Linked DNA regions of Homo sapiens: regions 1 and 3 are each linked to region 2. The links are contacts of gene promoters, found by promoter capture Hi-C in blood cells and fetal thymus (Javierre and others, 2016). All regions are on one chromosome and are shown on one strand. The core of a region is centred on a gene start or on the middle of the fragment in contact, and the rest is flanking DNA. Distances in the headings are between cores, read along the strand shown. Region 1 holds the start of PKNOX2 (PBX/knotted 1 homeobox 2). Region 2 holds the start of HYLS1 (HYLS1 centriolar and ciliogenesis associated). Region 3 holds the start of HEPACAM (hepatic and glial cell adhesion molecule).

Region 1 (3,211 bases), core at 709-3,208, 720 kb after region 2:
AGGGCACTGGAGTTTGAGCCGGTCCTACCCTGGGCCACAGCCCAGACTCCTCGGCCCACTGTGGCACCTCGCTGCTAGCGCTGCCCCCCGGCCTTCATCGCAGGCCGCGGCCCCTGCGGGCCACCGCTCCCGCCCCGCCGCGCTGCGCCCGCAGACCCAGGTGGCTCCTGGAGCACTCCGAGCCGCCTGGGTCGGGACCTCAGATCCACTCCCAGCCCCGCGAGGCTGCCCTGCCGCTTCGCCCAGAAGGTCTCTTCGATCTGTCCGCTTCCCGGAATCGCTCTCTTAGGACCGGGTCCTGTGTGGCCCAAGTCCTCTCCTCCTAAAGAAACACTTTCAGGGGGAAGCAGCAAAAATTCGGGGCTCGCCTGCCATGGCTCAGATCAACTACTTTCATCGCCTACCTAAACGCTTTTTCACACGCGGAGCTGCAGGACCCCTCGTGCTACCCTCCCCAAATTCCAATAGCTTCCACCACAAGAAAAAGCTGTGATCCTGTTACTGAATCCTAAAAACGCCACCCGTTCCTCCAGCCCCCAACTCCGACCTCCAGCCCTCTGCTCTGGCCGGCGTGTAAACTACTTATCGGCCCCTCGATCCCGATTCCGTAAACAGTCTGGATCCTATAAACCGAACTCTAGACTGGTCCTAAAACCCAGCCCTAATTCAGGCCGATCCACAAGCCCCTACCCCTCAATTCCCAACCCGAGTCTCCCCACCGCGCGGAAACCCCCGGCTCCCCCGTGAAGAGCCCCGGGAAAGGACGGCCCATTTCGCTCGTTTCTTCCTGGGGATCGGGAGCCAGGAAAGCCCGTCTCCTAACCCGAAAGAAATGCAAACTTTGAGCGGCAGATTCGGGATCCTGCGCCATCCCCCTCAGCTCTCCGCTCTCGATCGCTTTCAGTTCCCTCTTTTACGAACTCATCCCCTAGTTCTCGAGCCAGAAGGGCTCCCGATTCCCAAGCCTCGCGCGGGCCCCTACGCCCGCCTCACCAAAGATCCCCAGCAATCATGGAAAGCCGGTGACCCTACACATTCTCGCTCCTCCCTGGGTGAGGGTCCGTGCGTGTAGCCCCTCGGATCCTGGCTTCCCGGGCCCCGCCGGTGTTCCCCTGTCTCCACTGATCCGTCTGCAAACCCTCATTCGCCCTGCCTCCCCAGGCCGCGGCCGCGGCTCCTCGACTCCTCCGGTCACCTGGCCCCAGCCTGGGACCGCTCCCGCCTCCAGCCGCTGGAAAGCATCTCCAGGCTGGTGGCGCGGAGTAAGCGCCGGCCCCAAGGACGCCCGAAGCCGGGAGAAAGAGAACCTGGAGCCTGCCCGCGGTTCCCAGCCTCTCCCCGCGGAGCGCCCGGCCGGGAGCCTTCTGCACCCGGGCTCGGGCCGGCGTGCCTGTTCCTATTCTCGGGTCCCCTGGCGCTCCTGGCGCACAGCTCCCCGCCCGCCCGCTACGGGGTTGGGCCCGCGGCGATTCGAGTCCGCAGCCCGGCTCCTTGCACCCGAGGACAATGCGCGGCCGGCCACGGGCCCAAGCGCGGCGAGGCGGCGGCGGCGGCGGCGGCGGGGCTGAGCGCTGGCCGGGCAGGGGAGCGGGCGGCCCGCGGGGCTCTCGCAGCCTCCGTGCCCGGCCTCGCCGCCCCTCGCGCTGCTCCGCTCCGCGCTCTCCCGGCGCTTCCCCAGCTTCTCTCTGCACGCTCCCGCCGTCCCTCGCTGCTCCCTGCCTCCCTCCTCCCTGCTGCCTCCCTCTCTCTCCTCCCTGCTGCCTCCCTCTCTCCCTCTCTCCTCCTTGCCCTGTCGCAATGAATAATACTCTGGCTTGGGGACTGGAATAAAACACACGCGCTCTGAGGCAGCCGCCCGCAGCAGCAGCCGCCGCCGCGCCGCCGCCGCCGCCTGCAAAAGCGTCTCTGACATGGAAATGAATGACAGCTTACCTGATGCCAATCTTCATCAGACTGACACCGGCGTGACAACACAGCCTATACTTCCCAGCACTGCTCGGGACGTCAGCGGCACAGGGACCCGCCCCCCGGACCCCCCCTTCACACACCTCCCCTCTCCCCACTCCCCCTTTTCTCCCCACCCCCCATCACCCCCACCCACTCCCGGCCCGGCCGCTGCCAAGTCGGAGGAGCCGCTGGAGTGTCTCCCTCTACCGGAGGCTCTCGGGCGGCGGGCGCGGGCCTGCTCCTGCGGCAGGGAGGCGGGCGGCCTGGAGAAGCGGCTCCGCTCGCGAGGAGCCTCGGATGGGGAGTGCGGTGGACCCCCAGGAACTCTGGAGCACCCTCCCGCCCCCAAGCCAAGTCCTCCTTAGCGAACAACCGGGGCCGAGTTCCAAGATATCACCGGTGCTGAGGGGACCGAGATGAGGTGAGATTTTCTGTGGACCCCAAGAGAACTCCCCAGAAATGATGAAACTTAAAACGGGCAAGAAATCCTTCCTTCCACCAGCACTCCCCCTCCCCCTTTTCCTGCCTGGCTGGCCTCATTTTTATGATTGCATTTGAATAATTCTCATTACCCTGGCCCCAGAAAAGGTGTTCAGATGACACTCTGGTTAGTTATTCCTGGTCTCAAGAGCTTTTTCTGCTGTGGGCTTCCCGGGGTGTCTGGTTCAAGGTGGGGCAGAGGGAGAGAGGAAAGAGTGGATAGGCTTTGTCAGTAAAGCACTTCTTTGCAAATGTCAGGCAAGCCTGTTCTAAGCCACTGCTATTTTCATTCTAATAAAAAGTCCTCAAGAAACTCAGTGAGTTCCCAGAGTTCTGGGGGCTGGGGTGCAGTCATATAAAGGGAAAGACCAGCTGGGCTGTTTCAGCCTGGGCCTGCTGGGGTGGCTTCATCTACATCAGGGAGGAAATGGGCTCCTTACATGCCCTCTACAGTGGAAGACAAAAGCAGGCATGTGTAGACCCACAAGCGCCTCCATTCACTCAGCAGAGATCACAGTCCTACTAAGAGCCACACACAGGAGCACACTTGCTTGCTTCCTCAACTTAGCACATGGCCCTCCGCATAAAGGGACAAGAGAACCCCTTCTGCCTCTGGAAGTTTGCTTCTTGCTCCCCATAGAGGAGCCCTTTCAGCCAGTCAGGCAGCCATTGATCCTCTGACCCCAGGCCAGGCAGGGGGCCTGGAAGAAGCCCAGACAAAGACACCGACAAAAGCGGGAAAGCAGAAAGTGAAACCCAGCCTCTGGGTTTTCAGTAAAGAATC
Region 2 (3,001 bases), core at 255-2,754:
GTTCCCAATTTATTACTGACTCAATAATGTATAATCTGCTTAACTGACGTTCTTTTAAATTAACATACTTTATTATATTTGTAACATGCAATTATTTAAAACACATTTTATAAGGAAATCACATAAATATAAGGTATATATTATGAATATATCTGAAGTAAACCTAAATGTGAACAGTGTTTGATGGTTATCTGTGACTGATGAAATTTCGAGTATTTTCTTTCTTCTTTACACGTACTAAATGTTGCTCGGATTGCTAAAAACATGTACATACTATGTTTGCATTCTTGTCCGATTTATGTCCTTGGAATAAACTCCTGGAATTGGATTATGACTTAGAAGTTATGGTACTACTTGAATTCTGATTTATGTTTTTCTTTTCTCTTTTTTTTTTTTTTTTTTGAGACAAGAGTCTTGCTCGGTCGCCCAGGCTGGAGTGCAGTGGCGCGATCTCGGCTCACTGCAACCTCTCCCTCCCGGGTTCAAGAGATTCTCCTGTCTCGGCCTCCCGAGGAGCTGGGACTACAGGCGCCCGCCACCAAGCCCGGCCAATTTTTGTATTTTTAGTAGAGACGGGGTTTCACCGTATTGGTCGGGCTGGTCTCGAACTCCTGACCTCACGTGATCCGCCCACCTCGGCCTCCCAAAGTGCTGGGGTAACAGGCGTGAGCCACCGCGCCCGGCCTGAATTCTGATTTATAATGCCAAACTGCCCTCTAGAAAAACAGATTATCCCCAGCACACAGGCCATAAAGGTGCTTGCTTTCATTTCTTCACTCTCTCAGCAGCATGGGGTACTGAAAAATCTTACCAATCTAAAAAGATATCTTAATGTTTTTCTTTGCCTGCTTAGTGAGATTGTATACTGTTTAGAATAAAAAAGATTTATTTCCATTTCGGGGTGGACAAACACCTTGGACGGTTCCATGCTGCAGTCCACAAAAGGTGCAGCTAGAAGGCGACAAGACACGCTCCGCCTTTCAACGGCAAAGCTCGCAGTCGCCCCGCCTGGCCGTGGGCGTGGCTTGGACCCAGGTCGCTAGCGGCCTTCGGGACTCCCCTCCAGCCCTGGGGCCGTCCCCGGCCTCCGCCTGGTCCCAGGGGCGCGGCCCAGGAGCTCAGAAAGGCCACCGGGGCAAAGACCGCGGCGGCGGCCAGCGCACACCGTGACCTCCAGGGGCTGCGGCCCGCCGCGCACATCGCCTGTAGCTCACGCTGCCCCGGCCGCCTCCCTCAGGAACGCAGACGTTGGGGACGGCTCGCCAGGCAGGACCTGGAATCCACGGAGGGAAGCTGCCACTCTGCACCGTCCCGACGGTGGGAAAAGGAGCGAGGGCTCCCGCCGCAGTGGGCCGGCAGCCACCAGGTCCCCGCGTCCCTCCGCTTCCGGCCTTCGCCCGGCTTACCCGCGTCGCGGAAGTCCGCTCTCTGCACCGCGTCCTGCCAGTCGCCAGCAGAGCACCGCAGATTCTGTTAGCTTTCGCGTAACTTGCGCAGGCGCACTGCCGGCCCACGCGCCGAGCCTGCGGTTAACCGCCGACCGCTGAGGTTTAAATCCGGAGAGCGAACCGGCACCCTTGGCCCGGTCCGCCCTCCCTCTTATTGGTCCTGAGGGTAAACGTCCTCCAAGTCTGTATCCTGATTGGCGCACATTTTGTCTGGGCCTTCTCCGCCGGCGGGAGCATGCCCGGGATTTCCAATGTGGCCTTAAAAATATCCGAGCCCGCCTAGCTGAGGCGCGCAGGCAGCAGCCGTTGCTGCGACGCCTCTGGTGTACTAAATCTGGAGGGGAGGTTGGGCCCTCGAAGAGAAGGAGAAGACCCTCAAACCTTGGCTAACGGCGACATAGCTGGCTTTTTGGAGAGGCCGCCTAACGGTCTGCCACTTCATTGGAATCAGCCTCCGCCCTTCTCAACTGGCTGCTGCGGGGCCAGTGGTGCCGGGAGACGAGGGCGGGCGCTCAGGGACGGTTCGAACAGTCTGGGGTGAGTCCGCCTGTGCGCTCTAGACGTTTCCTTGGGGCCTGAGAGAGCGGCTGTATGAAACCCTGGCGCACTGAGCTCTTCCTTTCCTCTGCATGGTGTGCAGGGCCCTGGCGTGACCCGTGGCTGCGTCTCCACAGCTCCTCCCACGTTACTCTAACTGTGCTCCAGCCACCGACTGCCTTGCTCCGACATGCACTTGTTTTCTTTTGGAATGTGCCTGTCTCCTTCACATGGTGTTACTCTCAACTTTTTTTTTTTTTTTTTTTTGAGACGGAGTTTCCCTCTTGTTGCCCAGTTGCCCAGGCTGGAGAGTAGTGGCGCGATCTCAGCTCTCTGTAACCTCTGCCTCCCAGGTTCAAGCGATTCTCCTGCCTCAGCCTCCCGAGCAGCTGGGATTACGGGCGAGCACCACCATGCCCGGCTAATTTTGTATTTTTAGTAGAGATGGGGTTTCACCATGTTAGTCAGGTGATTCTACCCCCTCGGCCTCCCAAAGCTCTGGGATTACAGTTGTGAGCCTCTGTGCCCAGCCACTAATTTTTTTTTTAAACCCGATGTTTTAACTCTTTTTGCATCTGTACCTGTAAAAAAAAAAAAAAAAAAAAAAAAAAAAATCTAGTGCTTGGGGATTGCTGAGGATGAGATCTGTAAAAGCAAGAGGAGAGGCCCTCAGGGTTCAATATCCTAGTCAATACCAAGCAAACCTATCTCAACTGGTCTTGAGTCCTGAGCATTGCATTTTCCACCTTAAACAAATAGGTGCTAGTTGTCAAGTTCATCTTACACCATTTCTTAAATCCAGGATTCAGTGGGAGGGGAGAAATGTTTAATCCTTTTCCTCCAAACACTTCGTATTATCTCTTACTCTCCCTCTTTGCCTCAGGGCCTTTGTGCTACCTCTAAGGCACTTTGAATTTGTGGGAGGAAGAAAATGGAAAGAACAAAGGAGGGAAGATGACAGAAGTAGGTTGTGGAGATTTGAGTGACTGCCCCTACATCTGCAATATCATAACACT
Region 3 (3,175 bases), core at 118-2,617, 950 kb after region 2:
GTCTAGGGAAAAGTCATAAACACAGAAATGCAAAAGGAAAAAAGAATCCCCTTTATATATTTCAGAATGTTTTCAGAGAGGTCTGTGAAGTTCAGTGCTTCCCAACTCTTCTCCCTCTGCCGAGGCTCAGAAGGGCTATGTAATAATGCTTCAGTTCTAGAAAGTTGACCTACTCAGGCTTTCTCCAGTATGTAAAAAGAATATTTAGAGAGATAATTGCTGCACTTACAAAACCAAGACCAGGGGTTAGGGATGACCAAGAAGGAAGTTGTGAAGTTTGGTCTCCCAAAAATATAAAGATCCCAGCATGAATGAAAAAAGAAACAAGGCAATTTTTAAAAAGTTTAAAACATCATCTCTGTAACAAAGGATTTGCTAGGTACTCTTCTGTACCAAATCTCCATCAACGCTCCCAACAATTCCCCTCAAGGAAGCTCTTCTTTTCCCCATTTTACAGATGAGAAATTGAAGGCTCAAAGAGGTTGCGAGCCCATCCCAAGATCACAGTTACTAGGCATCCATTCCCTTGGCCGCCCTCATGAAAAGGTGTGAACACATGAATGGGGGTCAGAGTAGAGCTAGAGTGTTTCTCCTCTTCACAGCCTCAAAACAGGAGGGCACAGCTAGGCTGTTAAGCTGGTAACAGAACCCTAGGATGCTGGCTGTTAGGAGATGACCTTCATTTTGCTCAGACATGTTCTAGAAAATTGCCTGAAAGCAGGGGAATGAACAGAGTGGCTTCTGGAAAGAGGTGTCCAGCATCTATGTGATTCTATGATAGAAGAGAAAATTCCAAGCCACGGAAAGACAAGTGTAACAATAATAGAATTCAAGCTGTTTTCCAGTCTTCTTCCTTTGGGATGGAACAGGGGTTTTCCATTTCTTCAGCAGTTGTCTGGAGTCTTTCACTTCCCAGCTTTTTAAAATCTCTTCTCCCTCCCTTTTCAGAGCTTATTGGAGGTCTGTCCTGGCATGTACCCTCCTCCTCAGGGAGAAGGAGTGTTAGGTGGAGACAGGGTAGGTTGGGACACAAAGTCCAGTTAAGTGTGTGTCCCAGCTCAGTGCTCTGAGCCCAGATCCTCATCTCCCTGGGTAGTGAGGCTCAGCACAGACAAGCAACCAACTGCTGGGCTGCCGGTGCCCCCCATGTTGGAACCTGAGTTGGAGATTATCTCCTAAGCAGATACCTGCTTCCAAACTGGGGATGTAGGGCTTGGAAACTAGAAAATGCCAGGTCTGAGGGAGAGGAAAGAACAAGTCCAGCAATACACAGAGCTCTGTGTATTCAGAGGGAAGTTGGCAGGGTTGTGTTCGGGCAGAGAAACTCCGAGTGGTACAAAGGGGACGTGCCCAGAGTGGAGAAATCATGCTAATTGTCTGCACTAGAGCTGGAGAACGCCACCCAAAATGAAGAGAGAAAGGGGAGCCCTGTCCAGAGCCTCCAGGGCCCTGCGCCTTGCTCCTTTTGTCTACCTTCTTCTGATCCAGACAGGTAGGAGGCCAGAGGGTAAGAAAGGGTCTGAAGAAAGGACCCGGGGCTTTTACAGCAGACGGAGGGGAGAGTGGAGGGCCTGAATGCCTTTGGGGCAGGAGTGGGGGAGAGTTCAGCTGCCGTGGGAAACATGTCAGGGAATTCAGGCATTAGCGTTGAACGTATTTCTTTATTTTGTGTGCCTCCCGCGCGGCCCCTACCCCCTTCCCCCAAAAGGCTGCATGACTTTGGAGCTCCCACGGCATTCAGTACATTAGATGGCGGGCACTGGGCCATTTCGTATGGGATGACTTGTTGGCGTGGGCCAGTCTGGCATTCTTTCCAAGGGATTGTGGTGGGGCTTGATGGGTAGGGGTAGGGGAAATTTTCTTTTTATACCTCCCCAGCCCCCGACTCTGGCTTCTCTGTGTGTAAAAGAGTAAGGCAGATGAAAGAAGCTTTGGAGATAATGAGCCTCCTAATGTGGGATAGTCATACCCACCTATCCATAATTCACTCCACTCCATAGCTGCTTACCTCCTCTACCGCCCCCTACCAATCCTTTGAGAAGTGATCTTATTTAAATATACCTATTTATGAGTACATACACATATACACACACACACACACACACAATTACAGAGCACCTAGGAATTCACAACTTAGTGAGGCAAACAGATGTGGAGATCATTTTACTAAACTGCAGGAACTATCATAAGTCAATTATGCAGAGAATGCATAGCAATCAGAGAAAGGTCACCTACCCCATCCAGGAAGCTGGTGCTGGTGGAGGGGGTGTTGGTAGGGTAGGACACAGGGTGTGGGAATATCAGGGGGAGGTTTTCTGGTAGAAGGAATGTGTGCACTGAATTTTAAAAGATGGGGAAAAAAGGTAGGAGTATAAGTGGGTGTTAGGGTTGGGAAATGAGCAAAGGTCAACAGCTTGAAATAACATCAAGTGTTTAGTCAGAGCCCAGCAGTTCATCACTGCTGGAGAGAAAAGCATGAATTGAGTGAGGCAAGAGCTTTGTAAACCAGACTCGTAATCTGGGGATTGAGAGGTGAGGGAATGAGCGGTTTTTAATTTGGGGACTGTCAGGGTTACATGTACCTTTCAGATAGCTTACTCAGTCTGCAGGGGGTCATTCGAGGGGAAACTGGAGGCAAATAAAATAAGAAAGGAAGTTTGTATTCATTTTCTAGGGCTCCTATAACAAAATACCACAAACTGAGTGGCTTAAACAACAGAAATGCATTATCTCAAAGTCGTGGAAGCCAGAAGTGGGAGATCGAGGTGTCAGCAGGGCCATGCTCTCTCTGAAGCTTCTAGGGAGGGCTCTGCCTTAGGGTTCTCTCCTAGCTTCTGGTAATTCCTTGACTTGTGGCAGCATCACTCCAGTCTTGGTATGGCATTCCCCGTGTTTGCATGTCTATGTCCACATTTCCCCTTTTTATAAGGACACATACTAGATTAGGTCCATCCTACTCCAGTATGATCCCTTCTTATTAGATCTGCAGTGACCCCATTGCCAAATAAGTTCACATTCTGAGGTACTTGGGGGTTAGGACTCCAACGTATGAATTTGAGGGGAACACAGGTCAAAAAGCTATTGCAATAGATCAAGAGAGAAATAGGAGAAATAACATGGACTGAAATTATAATAAAGATAGAAGGAATGAGGCATGTTGAGAAAATATTTTAGA

The links. The method cuts DNA at HindIII sites, captures the fragments that hold promoters and counts their contacts. A CHiCAGO score of 5 or more calls a contact.
Region 1: the fragment with the promoter of PKNOX2 here is called in contact with the fragment with the promoter of HYLS1 in region 2 in 1 of 17 cell types (total B cells); the score reaches 5.0 in total B cells.
Region 3: the fragment with the promoter of HEPACAM here is called in contact with the fragment with the promoter of HYLS1 in region 2 in 4 of 17 cell types (naive CD8 T cells, activated CD4 T cells, non-activated CD4 T cells and 1 more); the score reaches 9.5 in naive CD8 T cells.

What each region holds. Positions count from the first base shown.
Region 1 is chr11:125,163,498-125,166,708 of GRCh38, reverse strand. PKNOX2 (PBX/knotted 1 homeobox 2) reads right to left here and starts at 1,958. Exons shown (of 13, transcript NM_001382323.2): 1 at 1,933-1,958. It overlaps PKNOX2-DT (PKNOX2 divergent transcript), which reads left to right and starts at 2,100. Exons shown (of 3, transcript NR_125759.1): 1 at 2,100-2,368. RefSeq lists a silencer at 2,096-2,245. The HindIII fragment of the contact is 6,114 bases long and covers 1-3,211 here.
Region 2 is chr11:125,886,171-125,889,171 of GRCh38, reverse strand. It overlaps HYLS1 (HYLS1 centriolar and ciliogenesis associated), which reads right to left and starts at 1,504. Exons shown (of 3, transcript NM_001134793.2): 1 at 1,407-1,504. RefSeq lists silencers at 927-1,316, 1,417-1,466, 1,557-1,606 and an enhancer at 1,747-1,796. The HindIII fragment of the contact is 13,277 bases long and covers 1-3,001 here.
Region 3 is chr11:124,934,239-124,937,413 of GRCh38, reverse strand. It overlaps HEPACAM (hepatic and glial cell adhesion molecule), which reads left to right and starts at 1,367. Exons shown (of 7, transcript NM_152722.5): 1 at 1,367-1,492. The coding sequence starts at 1,408. All of the region lies in intron 1 of LOC107984406 (a long non-coding RNA gene), which reads right to left. The HindIII fragment of the contact is 6,598 bases long and covers 1-1,931 here.